Regions from separate parts of the Homo sapiens genome. Here all the other regions are linked to region 1. The links are contacts of gene promoters, found by promoter capture Hi-C in blood cells and fetal thymus (Javierre and others, 2016). All regions are on one chromosome and are shown on one strand. The core of a region is centred on a gene start or on the middle of the fragment in contact, and the rest is flanking DNA. Distances in the headings are between cores, read along the strand shown.

Evidence for each region. Contacts are between HindIII fragments. The CHiCAGO score rates a contact against its expected background, and 5 or more counts as called.
Region 2: the fragment with the promoter of C10orf71-AS1 here is called in contact with a fragment that was not itself captured in region 1 in 1 of 17 cell types (megakaryocytes); the score reaches 7.1 in megakaryocytes.
Region 3: the fragment with the promoter of TMEM273 here is called in contact with a fragment that was not itself captured in region 1 in 2 of 17 cell types (fetal thymus and monocytes); the score reaches 7.0 in fetal thymus.

The regions. Positions count from the first base shown.
Region 1 is chr10:48,662,960-48,667,746 of GRCh38, reverse strand. No RefSeq gene overlaps it. Among named protein-coding and RNA genes, the nearest start is that of WDFY4, 20 kb to the left of the region's middle. The HindIII fragment of the contact is 206 bases long and covers 2,762-2,967 here.
Region 2 is chr10:49,296,135-49,300,921 of GRCh38, reverse strand. It overlaps C10orf71-AS1 (C10orf71 antisense RNA 1), which reads left to right and starts at 2,029. Exons shown (of 2, transcript NR_108038.1): 1 at 2,029-2,232; 2 at 4,149-4,639. It overlaps C10orf71 (chromosome 10 open reading frame 71), which reads right to left and starts at 1,752. Exons shown (of 3, transcript NM_001135196.2): 1 at 1,689-1,752. RefSeq lists a silencer at 3,699-3,876. The HindIII fragment of the contact is 569 bases long and covers 1,686-2,254 here.
Region 3 is chr10:49,185,711-49,190,497 of GRCh38, reverse strand. TMEM273 (transmembrane protein 273) reads left to right here and starts at 2,107. Exons shown (of 7, transcript NM_001288740.3): 1 at 2,107-2,204. The coding sequence starts at 2,162. RefSeq lists an enhancer at 119-278. The HindIII fragment of the contact is 10,255 bases long and covers 1-2,506 here.

The sequences.
Region 1 (4,787 bases), core at 1,615-4,114:
TACTGCAAGCTCTGCCTCCAGGGTTCATGCCATTCTCCTGCCTCAGCCTCCCAAGTAGCTGGGACTACAGGTACCCACCTCCCCGCCTGGTTAATTTTTTGTATTTTTAGTAGAGACGGGGTTTCACGGTGTTAGCCAGGACGGTCTTGATCTCCTGACCTGGCCATCTGCCCGCCTCGGTCTCCCAAAGTGCTGGGATTACATGAGTGAGCCACCACACCCGGCCTTCAAACCATTTTTTAAATGATAGAAGAATATGGGCCCATAAATAAACACAAAAGTAACTCCTCATGTGGAAAAGTGCTCTCTGCATATTGGAAATAATCTGAAGTGTTCAATCTTAGACTTTAAAGTAACATGGTATACAGTGAGTAATATGCTGTTTCAGACATCATTTTTAATACCGTAAGGATATGCTTAATTTATAATGTTAAGTTAGAAAGCAGGTGAGCAGTCTGGCTGCAGGCACCGGCTCTGGGGTTGAAGTGCCTGGGTGGGAGTCCTGCCTCTGTGCCTTACTGGCTGCCTGACCTTCAGTTCTGTAAGCCTCGGCTTCCTCATCTATCCAATGGGTACTACAGCAGTAGCCTTCTTTCTGAGTGGTTTCAAGGGAAGCAGTGGAATGGCTCCCAGCACCCAGCACATAGTGAGTCTTCAACATTATTTATAACCAGCTTTGTCACTGCATCCATGGCAAATCAATCCACTGACAAAACGCTGGAGAGAAATGCTACAAACTGCCCAGTCTTAGTATCTGAAGCAGTTAAAATAATACAGGGAAGAGATCTTACTGTGTGGAAATCTCATGAAATGAACAGCATACTCACTGCTAAAGGAGACTTGTGGCTGTCAGCTAACCATTTACTTAAATATCAGGCTCTATTACTTGAAGGGCCAGTGCTGCAACTGCGCACTTGTGCAACTCTTAATCCAGCCACATATGTCCCAGACAATGAAGAAAAGATAGAACATAACTGTCAACAAGTAATCGCTCAAACCTATGCCACTTGAGGGGACCTTTTAGAGGTTCCCTTGACTGATCCCAACCTCAACTTGTATACTGGTGGAAGTCCCTTTGTAGAAAAAGGACTTTGAAAAGCAGGGGTTGCAGTGGTCAGTAATAAAGGAATACTTGAAAGTAATCCCCTCACTCCAGGAACTAGTGCTCAGCTGGCAGAACTAATAACCCTCACTCGGGCACTAGAATTAGGAGAAGGGAAAAGGGTAAATATATATACAGACTCTAAGTCTGCTTACCTAGTCCTCCATGCCCATGCAGCAATATGGAGAGAAAGGGAATTCCTAATTTCCGAGGGAACACCTATAGAACATCAGGAAGCCATTAGGAGATTACTATTGGCTATACAGAAACCTAAAGAGGTGGCAGTCTTACACTGTTGGGGTCACCAGAAAGGAAAGGAAAGGGAAATAGAAAGGAACCGCCAAGCGGATCTTAAAGTCAAAAGAGCCGCAAGGCAGGACCCTCCATTAGAAATGCTTATGGAAGGGCCCCTAGTACAGGGTAATCCCCTCCGGGAAACCAAGCCCCAGTATTCAGCAGGAAAAATAGAATAAGGAACCTCACAAGGACATACTTTCCTCCCCTCCAGATGGCTAGCCACTGAAGAAGGAAAAATACTTTTGCCTGGAGCTAACCAATAAAATTACTTAAAAGCCTTCACCAAACCTTCCACTTAGGCATCGATAGCACCCATCAGATGGCCAAATTATTATTTACTGAACCAGGCCTTTTCAAAACTATCAAGCAGATAGTCAGGGCCTGTGAAGTGTGCCAAAGAAGTAATCCCCTGCACTGCAGGCCATACATTTCAATCCCTGTATCTTTAACCGCCTTGTTAAGTTTGTGTCTTCCAGAATTAAAACTGTAAAACTACAAATCGTTCTTCAAATGGAACCCCAGATGCAGTCCATGTCTAAGATCTCCCGCGGACCCCTAGACTGGCCTGCTAGCCCATGCTCTGGTGTTAATGACATCGAAGTCACTCCTCCTGAGGAAATCTCAACTGCACAACCCCTACTATGCCCCAGTTCAGCAGGAAGCAGTTAGAGTGGTCATCAGCCAACCTCACCAACAGCACTTGGGTTTTCCTGTTGAGAGAGGGGACTGAGAGACAGGACTAGCTGGATTTCCTAGGCCGATTAAGAATCCCTAAACCTAGCTGGGAAGGTGACCGCATCCACCTTTAAACACGGGGCTTGCAACTTAGCTCACACCCAACCAATCAGAGAGCTCACTAAAATGCTAATTAGGCAAAAACAGGAGGTAAAGAAATAGCCAATCATCTATTGCCTGAGAGCACAGTGGGAGGGACAAGGATTGCAATATAAACCCAGGCATTCGAGCCAGCAACGGCAACCGCCTTTGGGTCCCTTCCCTTTGTATGGGAGCTCTGTTTTCACTCTATTTCACTCTATTAAATCTTGCAACTGAAAAAAAAAAAAAAACTGCCCCCAGTAGTTGTTGCTGGGTGGTGGCACTGGGGGAGATTTCAGTCCTTGATCCTGCCTTTGTGGGATAGGATTCTCCCTCCCTCCTAGTCCTCTACAGTCCCCTACACTTTTCCTATTGCTCATCCATTCTGCAAATTGCTCTGTTATAATTTCCTCCTTGCCATTTTGATTAGTGAGCTCTTGAGTCAGGGAATTTTTCTTGTTTATCTCCATAGCCATAGCCCCTAGTACAGACCTAAGAAATAGTAGGTGCTCAATCAAACATTTAACAGTCAAGTTTTCCCAAGCTTTATTGAGGAGTGTTTCAGATATCTGCTGCTACATAACAAAATATGGTGGTTTGAAATAACAACTACTTATTATTTCTCACAATTCTGTGGGACAGGAAGCAGGCAGGGCTTGGCTGGGGGGTTCTTCTGCTCCACACAGCATGGACTGAGAGCCACCTGGCTGCATTCACTAGGGGGCTGGGAGCTCGAATATCCAAGGGAAGCTTTATTCACAAGACTGGTGCCTCAGTGCTCTTCCTTTGCAGACTCTCTTTCCCTCCATGCCCTCTCATCATTCGTTAGACAGTGCAAATCTTATAAAATATGACAGCTTGGCTTCCAGAGAGAAAGACAGTGAAGCTTCCAGGCTTCTTAGGGTCTACATGCAGAACTACTGTAGCATCATTTCCACCTCTTGGCAGGAGGAAGGGCATGAGCACACTGACAGGGAAGGGATTTGGAGGGCCATCTCTAAAGAAACTAATGCTTGATAAATTTTTTAAAAAACAAGAAGAAAGCATTTTCCAAAAGTAACACTAGGATAAGCTGGTCTGGAAGCAGCATTGGTTGAAGTCTTTGCCCTTGCATTTCAGAGTGGCACGGAGTCCAAGGCATAACTGCAGTAGCAGATCCCTGGCCCAGGAGCAGCAAACCCAGAAGTCTCCCTGCAGCGAGGTTGTGCTCTACTTCACAGGGAGAGACCACAGAGCTGGGCTCCCAGTGGACCCACAGAGAATCCTGTGCAGCTCATTTCCCCAAAAGCTTCTGAGCCCCAGCATCTGTGTGCTATTCCTGAGTGGAAAGACCAAGGTGAGCAAGGCAGCCTCCATATGCTCTGACAGCTCAGCCTGCTGGAGGGTAAGGTGTAAACCTGGTGACACATGGCCATGGAGTCAGCAGTGACTTCATACCCACATAAGAACTAAGATGCTACCTGTCCAGGAAACCAAGGAGGGCCCTATCTTGGACTCTACACTTTGAGGGCCCATGAGAACCCAAACAGCACACATCTATTCATGGATGTATGGAATGGGCACCTCTGTTCCTCGAGAGGTGTGCCCAGTGCTGCCCTGCATGACCCATGGCCCTGACCCTGCACACCTGCTCACTGGACTGGCATTGTCCAGCACCTCATCTCTTGCCCTATGTATGTCCTCAAAAGAAAATGTGATTGGATCCAAATGTTATGGATTTGGCTTGCAGGATCAGCTTAGGTTTATGGGTTGTGCCATTGCCAGCAGGAACATTGCTTCCATGTCTAGGAGGAATTGAACGTGGAAGCAATAGGAAAAAAATCTAAACTTCCAGAGGCTTCCTCTCAGATCACCTAAATGTAGTAGGTTCTCCATAAGAAATCTCATCTCTGAATAGTGCCAGACATGTATTTTTTTTTCTGCTCTTTGAGTTCAAATTCATAGTTTCATAGGTACTTATATATCATTGCAAAATTCACAATGGTTCTTCATTGCAGCCTGGAAATATTTCATGCTATTAAACAGCTCACTCCCTCTTAGATGCATATGTGTTGTTCTGGATGTATAATGTCACTTGCGTGAAGTATGACATAGATTCTTCATAGCACCCACTAGATGCAAAACAAACACCAGAAATGCTAACAGTTTAATTTTTAGATTTATTTTTTATTTTTAAAATCACAATAAGAATTTAATTTTATCAAATAATGTTTTTTAATTTTTTGTATTCTTTAATTATCATATACATTTTGCTTTTTGATTTTTTAGAGAAATCTTTAAAACTGTAGTAATAATAACATGCATTGGCACAGTTTCAACATCCTAACAAGACCTATCTATGTGTACACATGTTAGACTGGTAATGTATATTGTTGCCACTAGTGAGTACCTACTCTTTTGCAGATTCACAGGAAGTTGCAAAAATAATCAAAGAGGTCCCAGATCCCCTTGACTCAGTGTCTCTCAGTGATTCTATCTTACATAACTTAGTACAATATCAAAACCAGGGAACTGGCATTGATGCAATGTCTATCACTCCAGTTGTATTACATGCAGATTTATGTAACCACCA
Region 2 (4,787 bases), core at 780-3,279, 630 kb before region 1:
AGCTTTCTCTCCCCAGGTTCCAGGAGACCTAAGCCCCTCTGCTCCAGGACACAGCATTCTACCAGCCCCCTTCTTACCCACCGCACACAGTTGTTCCCTTCCCAGTGAGCTTCTGGTCATCCAAGAGCAGACAAACTTGTTCCCAGAGACCCAGGGGCAGATGTGTGTTGGACTTGGGTCACCCGGGGAAGGCTATTTATAAATCACCCCGATAAGCACAATCTGCCCTGCTCAGCCCAGGCCACATGGACACGCTGTGTGTCTGGTGATTCTACTGCTAAGCTAACCCTCCCAGCACCGTGACAGCAAACTGGACATTTCCTGTATCAGCCAGGCCTAAAAAGTGGGCCCTGGAAGGTGCAGGAGGCTCAGGAGCCAGCCAGCCACTGGTCCTGAAGGGTCTGGCTTACAAACTATTCTAACAGCAAGAACTTTCACTGCTTTTTTTTTTTTTTTTTTTGTATTAAATTGACCCATCTCAAGATGTGTTCTTGTAACACAGTGGTCAGCAAACTTTTTCTGTAAAGGGCCACATTGTAAGCGTTTTCAGTTTTGCAGGCCATATGGTTTCTGCTGATATAGTGTAGAAGCAGCTTTAGACAATATGCAAATGAATGAAGGTGGCTGTGTGCCAATACAACTTTATTTACAAAACCAGATGCTCAGACCACAGACCAGAGTTACCAGCCACTACTGCAAAGGGAACTCAAATGCTGGAAAACAGGACCTCATTTACTACACACATCTGTTTAATCTGCTTCCCAGGTTCCTATACTTAGGGAGCTACCTGAAAGGCCTACACAATGATTTTTCTTAAGGCTATCTAGCTTTCCACACACATTGACCACTGCCGTTCTCAATGTTCAATTCTTCTCCACCAGAAAATAAAAGAGGTAATTTTAGACTCAGTCAAGCATACCCTGTGGGAGTCTGGTGGGGGCCCTCCCAGGGTGTGTAAGAACAGGCAGCCTGTGGCGGGCTTTGTTTTGGGGACACACATGCTCGCAGAGCCCACAGGCCAGAACGTCTCAGTCACCAGTTTTTCTCTTTGTTACAGCTGGTGTGACCCTGCCTGGCCCAGCGCTGGGGGAGCTAAGAAAGCCAGCCTCCCTCAGCCCTGAATGCTGAAAACCTGGGACCATGGGGTCACCCATTTGACAGCGCAGTGGCCTGGGCACATCTGTGCACTCAGCCATGTGGGAGCAGAGATCCCTGACAGATGACACCTAAGGACAAAGTCACACATGTACACGGTTCCGGGTACGTGGTCCCCGAGGCCCATCCAGCACACCAAGAACCTTAGCCCCAACACCAATGGGCTCCCGGCACACACATACCACCCTGCACAGCACCCTGGCACCGAACTACTTCCCCAGCACAGCATCGGCCCAGCGGGAACATCCCTCCCGCCATGAACTTGAGCCTCCCTGCCCACGCTAAGGAGCCAGACAAGTGTCTGGGCTGTACCTTCCGCTCTCTGCGTGTCCAGCTGCTCAGGCCTCCTCGGGAATGGGAGAGAAACCCGGCTCTGCCCAGCAGCCAAGACTTCTTTCCTCTTTATCCAGGCTGCCCAAAGGTGATAGGAGAGTGGATTCAGGACCCAAGCCTCCTCTAGCTCACAAACCTACCCACCTGAGGAAGATCAGTGACCAGAAGCCGGCCAGACACGGGAAGTCCGCGAAGCTTACCTAAATAGAGACCCAGCCGGGGGAAACCAAATGGTGTTCTTGGTGGGGAAGAGGCAAACAGTCCGCACTGCAACACCCGCGTGGTGTCAAGTAACAGTCAGATTAAACAAACAGCCTCAGCTGCTATTTTTACTTCCAAATCAGCCACGAGTAACAGATCACTTGGGGAGTGAGAAATTGCTTGCCGCTTAGCCGGACCCTAACCACGATTCCAACTTCAATCCAGAATGATTGCTAAAGCTATTCCAGCACCTAGAGTCAAATAAAAATATCCCGAGGTGGGAAGGAAAACATTTGTTTAGGGAAACATTAAAAACAGGAGAGTGTGTGCCTTGGAGCCAGAGCCCAGAGCCCTGCTGATGTCCCGGGGCAGAAATAGCCCGTTTCATCATCGGCTCTGGACGACCGCCGCCCGCATTCCTCGAGTAAGGAGCCGTCCTCTGCTGTGCTTTTGGAGCAGAATAATCTGCAGCTAGGGGAAGGCCAGGCTGGGTCTCAGGGTGAGAGTTACAGAAGGATATGAAATAATCGGGGAAGAGGCAAGGTAAGTGTCCACTTGGTAAGCTTGGCTACAGCAAGCCCGGTTGTTTGCAAAGTCCAAGCACCAGTGGACAAGTCCCGTTCTGCCAGGCTCCCCTCTCCACCTCTGGGAAGGGCTGGCCTCCCTTCAACCCTGAGGTGGGCTCATGCCTGCCTTCCCAATGGCTGCTTTCTGTCTCAGGCTGGGGTCACCTGCTCCCCAAACTGCCCACAGATCCCCCAACTTTTTCCACTGGCTTTTCCTTGGCTTGTGCCATGCCAGCTCCCAGAGTGCCTTCCTTACTCTCCCAAGCTGGCCCTAGGATAGTCTGCTTGCTACCAGGATTTAATGCAAGAGTGGGTTTTTTTCCCCCTTTCTCTCCAAGGTTCTTTTTTATGCTTCCCTGACTGTGGCCTGAGAAAGCGGAGATGACTGGCCCCCGCTGGGTGTCCTGCTCTGTGCAGCGCTCAAAGCCTCTGCAAGTTTGCAGTGTGCTGTGTCTTTGGGTCTATTTGTAGACTGTCCCTTCTGCCCCTGTGGGCTCTTCAAGGGCAGCAACCTGTGTCCCAGCCCCAAGCTGGGGCCTGGCACCACCTCCAGCCTTGAACCGGCTGACAGCCAGGGCCACAGGGACCCAGGTCTATGTACTTTTGTCTAAACCAAGTCACAAAGAACAGCTCCTCCTTGCCCTGCAGACTAAGGTGTGAGATTCCAACCAGCAGGAGCATTCAGACCCGCCTCCTCCTGGGAGCCTCAAGACTTGCCTTTTGCCCTGAGAGCTTCAGAACCTCGCTGTGGGGATGATTACTTGCTGCTCCGCACTCAGAGATGCTTTGAGGGAGGCCCAAAGTGAACCCCTCAATTTTACCCACCCACCTCCCTACCTCCCCATTTGCCAAAACAAACGCATGCCAAAAGGTCAGACAAAAGCCATCAACTTGAGATGGGAGCCAACATTTAAAAAGTACACAGGATTTTGAGCCCTGGCTCCATTATTTCCTGGTCAGTTGACATGTCACATACTTACCCTTCCTGAGCCTCAGTTTACCCATCTCTAAAGTGGAGAGAATGCCTGTGCTCTGTGGGATTCAGGGTCAGGGGAGCTCATGTACATGAATATGCTCGTCTATTGCAAAGCTTCCCAAAATGTTAGTCATTTATTTGTTATTTTTTCCCATGATTTTTGCTACACCTCAACCATCTGTATCAACATTTACTTACTATTTTCCTTTAAAGAAAATTTAAATTGACTTGCTTTTTTTCTTGAACAGAAGAACTTTATGGAAAACAACAATACTTAATAGATCATGGATTTGACATATTTGTTAATTTCCCTCCCTCCCAGTACACATTGAAACAAATTTACAGTCAGTTCATATGTCATCTGTTTGACCCAAATCATTTTGTTCCAGATGTTAGAAAATGTTGCATTACTAAACCTCATTTTATGGAGGAGTTTGCTTTGGGGTGTGAGTAACATGAGCTGAAAGCTTCGGCAGGGCCGCTGGTCTTCCTAATTTGCTTTCCTCCCCTCCTCAGCACCTTCCTTCCCCAGCTTACGTTTCATTCTTCACAGGTGGAGAGCATGACCTCATGTCTTGTTTAGGATCCTAGAAACAGCAAGCTTTGCTCTGCAGCAGGAGCGAATGGTGTTTGCTTGAAGTGGCTGATTGAGGAAAGAGCACCGTGGGATGGCTGGGGAATGTTCCGGGGGCCGGGCACTGGCGGGTAGCTTTGTCAATGACATCAGCAGGAGGGGTAGGGAGAGAATAATAAAACACAGTTGACCCAGCAAGAGCCTGTCCTAGGAGCAGGCAGCCCTCAGAGCTTGGCTGGAGGCTCCAACCAGCAAGCCTGAGCATAGCTGACACCTGCAGAATCTAATTTCTCCTGGATGTTCCCCCACCTGCCCTGTGTAATAGACTCTATGTCTGTGTCAGTTACAGCGGGTATCCTGATGCAGACCATCCCCAGCCAGAAACACAGCCGCAGAACTGAGCCCAAGCTCCAGACCAAAAACTGAGCCCAAGCTCAGGGTCTGCATGGCCCAGAGCTGGCATCTGTCCGGGGGACTGGCCCAGGCAAAGTGACCACTGTCATCCAGTCCAGGAGCTGTGAGCTGCATGGAAAGAATGTGAATGAAGACACAACTCTAAATGTGGAACCATGGACGCTATGTGAGCCAGTGTGCTCCCTAGCCGTCCAGAAAAACAAGGCCCACTTGTACATTCTGCAAGAGCATAAATAAAGCTGTCCTCAGGCGGCGTGCTGTGGTGGCCCATCCTTGCAGTGGCTTCACTGGCTGCACCCCTCAGCAAGGCCTCTGGAACACTGTGAGGGCAGCACACCCACCCAACAGCGTGGGTAAAAAACGGTCTAGCTATGGCCTTGCCGCACGTGGTGATCGCTAACTTAATTTTGCAGCAAATTTAATCTGCTCTGTATTGGTATTAATTAGAAATGTTCAAAAGCTGGTAATAAGGGCAGTGCAGAATGGGTCCTTCAGGCCAATTTCTGGTTCTGGGTATTTGAAGCTCATATCCCTGCAAATAACAGGAAGCCACTCACCTGATTCTTTT
Region 3 (4,787 bases), core at 858-3,357, 520 kb before region 1:
ATTACAGGGGTACAGGGTGGGGCATCCGCTCTTCTGGGTGCATTGTGCCACGCCAACAAGACACACACCATCTTGCCAAGGTGCCGTGGCTGGGTGCCAGGGCATCTCGTGAGATTCTAGTTTACGGGGCGTTTTGAGCCTCTGCCTGTCTAAGCAGGGAGCAGACTGCATTTTCCAGACTCGGAGGCTACGGCAGAGTGAAAGCAGAAGTAGCTGCAGATGCTTCCCCTCCTGGGAGTATGTAGGACAGGTCGAGCTCCCAAGGATGTTTGGAGAGGTGTTTGGGAGCAGAAGTTCATGCTGGTGTTTAGGTTGACTCATCCCATGCGAAAGTATTTTGAAATCAGTTGCCGACATTTGAAACTTATTGATTTCATATAAAAACAGAACTGCCTGGTGTGGCTGGAAGCCCTGGGCCTGGCCTGAATGTAGCTCCACCGTCCCCAGCCACTGTCTACAGATTGTCAGGTCTGCACTGGCATTTTCTTTCAATACACTTAGAGGAAAGTGAAATATTTTTCTTACACATGTTCCCATGAACTGGGGCAAAATTAAGAAAACTCCACATATTCCAGGAGAAATAAGAGAGTATGTTTCTTGGTGCAGGTAGAAACTGATCTTAATTTCATCAAATGAATAAAGTGTGGACAGATGGAACTTGAAGGCACCCAGATGAAGCCAATTGCTTCTCTCATGACCAGCCTTCTCCTCTCATGTCCATTATTTATGTGAAACTCAGAAGGAGCCACAGCAGCCATGCAGAAGAACCCAGGGGGCATCTGTGGCACCAGGGCAATCGGACTGCCTCTGGCTGGACCTTGGCAGGGGATGGTACCTGTACACAGAGGGCACATGCAGCCTGAGGGGCATAGGCTGCCAGCCAAAGGCCTGGGTTTCGAGTCCAGCTCTCACATTTACTGCTGCGTGGACTTGGACAGGTTGCATGCTAAGATGGCATTGGGCTCAGTAGCAAGTGCTCACGGTGTTGGCTGCTACCGTTAGGGATTTGACTGAGGGAGCCCAAGAATGAAAAGAGCTCGATTTCTGCCAGCTCAGTTGGGTGGGGGACTCAAGACTTGTCATTAAGTTGATTTATATTTTAAAAAGTGACATTTCCTGCACATTTGGGTTTTTGGCTGAACATCTAAGCATTGTGACAACGTGCAGGTATAAAGGAGTACAGGAGCATAAGGCCTTCAGCCTGCTGGCTGAGCCTGTGTGACTACCAAAGTTCCTCCAGGCTAAGGACCTGGACATGGGGCCTGTAAACTTGGATGGGAAAAAAATTACATCTCTGTTCTCTAACCTCTAAGGAACACTTAGCATCTTCTTCTAATAGTAGTGTGGCAAACGAACCACAGAAACATTACCACCCAGTAACTTTATTTCTGGTAGGAATCACAGGTCTTTCCATCCACATTCCAGCTGTTACAGGTATCTCTCAATATCGATTCCATTTATCACCATGTCGAGATGGTGGTAGCTGTTTCATCTGCTGCCAGATCTTGCTATTTACTGTGTGGATAAATAAGCATGTATATTTCTACTTCACAAGTTTAACAAAATATTTTGATAACTGTGTGTTAATACTACTGATTTCTACTATGATCCTTATCTATTTTAGTTTGGGGATTTAAAAATCTTATTCTGAGAAGAGAGTGATAGGCATTCCTAGACTCAGAGGCTCCCATGGCACAAAAACAGTGACCGAGCTGGACTATTGGCTGGAGGGGCATTTCCTATTTCTGCTCCAAGGCAGAGGCTACTGCAAGGGCTGGACTGCAGGGCAGACCGGCTTTGCCCACATTCCTCTCTGAGACTTACTAGCATGGGTCATTAGGCAAGAAACCGCACCTTACCGAGCTTTGTTCCCACACTCTGTGGGGAAGATTATAGGAGAGAACACTGGGTATAATACCCCAGCATGTACAATGGGTCTAATCACAGCCAGCTTCTGGTGGAGTCCAGAATGACAGGGGCTTCCTTCAGCCCTGTCTTCAGAGAGGCTGAGAGGAACTGAACAGCCTCCTGGCTGTGACAGTGGTTTCCTTCCCCATCAGTCACGTGGGTCTTGTCCTGTCCCCAGAGCCTTGGGTCACATGGCTCATTGTGCCTGCGCTGCCAGCAGCCAGGAGCCAGGAGCCAAGAGCAGAGCGCCAGCATGAACTTGGGGGTCAGCATGCTGAGGATCCTCTTCCTCCTGGGTAAGTGGGGACTGCGGGGGTCTCTGGCCCGGGGGAGCCTCAGTGGGCAGGAAACTGGGGGAGCCTTAGCCCACTGGGGCTTGATCCCTAAAACATAACTCTGTCCCTTTACACAGATGATGTTTCTCACTTTGATCTGGTAGTGAGCAATGATCTTGTTTGTCTCATTCCAGCTGCAACTTACAAATGCTTCTGGGCTAAAGGAGAATAGGAAGGGTCATGGCAGAAGGAGCTTCGGGCTTGGGATCTAGAAACATCTGGGTGTAAACTGTGGCTCCATTGCTGATAAACTAGAATAAGCTTCTGAAACTCCCTAACTTTCTGAACCAATGAGATGGGAGATAATCATGTTTACTTTTTGGGATTTCAAGAGAGTTAAGTTAAATTTAATTAAGTCAAATCAAAATACTGACATAGAATGAGAACATGTAGGCATGTAGATACTGGTATACATTTAATGTTGAATCAGAATTCTCATGCAGTGAAGCAGACTCTTTGCTACTCAGAGGTATCTTTGTTTTTAAAAATTATCTTTAATGCATTCCTTGAAAGAAGGAAGAAAGGAGAGAGGCAAAGACTAAAACAAAGTAGGGCCAAATGGAGGAGAGAAATATAAAGTCAGAGAAGTAGACAGAGAGGAAGAAACTCAAAGAGAGAGAGAGAGAGACAGACAGAGACATAGAGAGATGGTTAGAAATATGCATAGATGGAGACAGAGATGGAGAGAGACACATGCCTTTACGAAGTCCCCTCTGATATCAACTGTTGTTTCCTAAAAAGGCAGCATACGTCCCTCATATATACAAAGACGTTCCTTCCCAGAACTTGCACTGGGCCGAGACTCAATGGGAAGCAGTCTGTCTCCAGATTAAATCTTGTGTCTCCAGACCAATAGGTTGTATCCTGAATGCGGGCAAAGTTAGTGCTGTGGGCAGGTTTCCATCTAAAGTCTGCACTAAGCAGGGGAGAGCAAAGACTTTGGCCTTGGGAGTCAGCATGTCAGACAGACAGCCAGCCACATCATCCATCAGTTTACACATGGAAACGGGCCGTTGGCAGTGACTGTGAAGGGATGTCAGGCACCAGCAAGCAGCGATTAAGGGTGTGCACGGTGGTTAGATGCAGTGTGCCTGCCCAGAGACGTGGTGGAAGGTAAGAGAAGTTGTAACCCTTATTTCTGCTTTTGACTTACCTAGATAAACAAACTAGTCTGTCCTGGTACAAAAAAAGGAAGTTAAATTTAAGAAATCCAATGAAAAATGTGCAAATTATATAAACAGGCAATTCATTGAAGAATCACAGACAATAAAACTTTAAAATGTCCAGTCTCACAAATAATAAAAGATCTAACACCTCCTCGCATTTTTTAGTGTGTCGATGTGCTGGGTGCTCTGCTGAAGATGTTACATGAGCTCATTTGGTTCCCACAGCAACTCTGTGCAATAGGTGCCACAATTACCTGCATGTTATAGATAAGGTTTTAATCACTGGGCCAAGGCATCACAGCTCGTTTCTGCTTTCATATACTATTGATAGAGGTACACAGTGGTTAGGAGTGGGTATCCAGTACGAGACTCCTTAAATGTTCATCCCTGTTCTGTTGTTTACCAGCCTGGAAAACTTGGACAAAGAATTAATCCTCTCTGTGCCCAGTTTTCTCATCTGTAAGTTGGGGACACCTCACAGGACTATTGGGAAAATGAAATCTGTTACCACATTTAAAGCACTTAGCATGGGATGTGATAAGTGGTGAGCACTCACTATTGGATATGAGGGGACTCATTTATTCACTCTCTCCAGAGGGCAATTTGGCAAAATCTGGGTGTCAATGTAAGCGAAATGTAAGATGTTCATAACCCTTCACCCAGAAATTCCACCTCCAGGAATATAACCTGATGAAATAATATGGTAAAACCCTCCCAAAATATTTCACAGGGTATTATTCAACACTGCCGAAACCACGGTGGGAACCAGAAACAAGAGACTATCAGTAGGAATTTGACTAAGTTAATTATGCTTTAGTATTTCCAACAATATCCAATATATTTAGTTGAAAGACATGCCTTTCTATGAGCTGACACGGATGAAACAGAAGTGATGAAGTGATAGTTACAGGTTAGAGTTCCGTAGTAATATTTTGCATGTGTTTAGTCTCCTTCTTCTTCCTCTTTTTCTTCTTCTTCCTCTTCTTCTTCTTCTTCTTCTTCTTCTTCTTCTTCTTCTTCCTCTTCTTCTTCTTCCTCTTCTTCTTCTTCTTTTTCTTCTTCTTCTTCTTCCTCCTCCTCCTCCTCTTCCTCCTCCTCCTTCTTCTTCTTGAGATGGAATTTTGCTCTTGTTGCCCAGGCTGGAGTGCAATGGCGCGATCTCGGCTCACCGCAACCTCCACCTCCTGGGTTCAAGCAATTCACCTGCCTCAGCCTCCCGAGTAGCTGGGATTACAGGCACATGCCCCCGCACCTGGCTAATTTTGTATTTTTAGTAGAGATGCGGCTTCTCCATGTTGGCCAAGCTGGTCTTGAACTCCTGACCTCAGGTGTTCCGCCCACCTCGGCCTCCAAAAGTGCTGGGATTACAGGCGTGAGC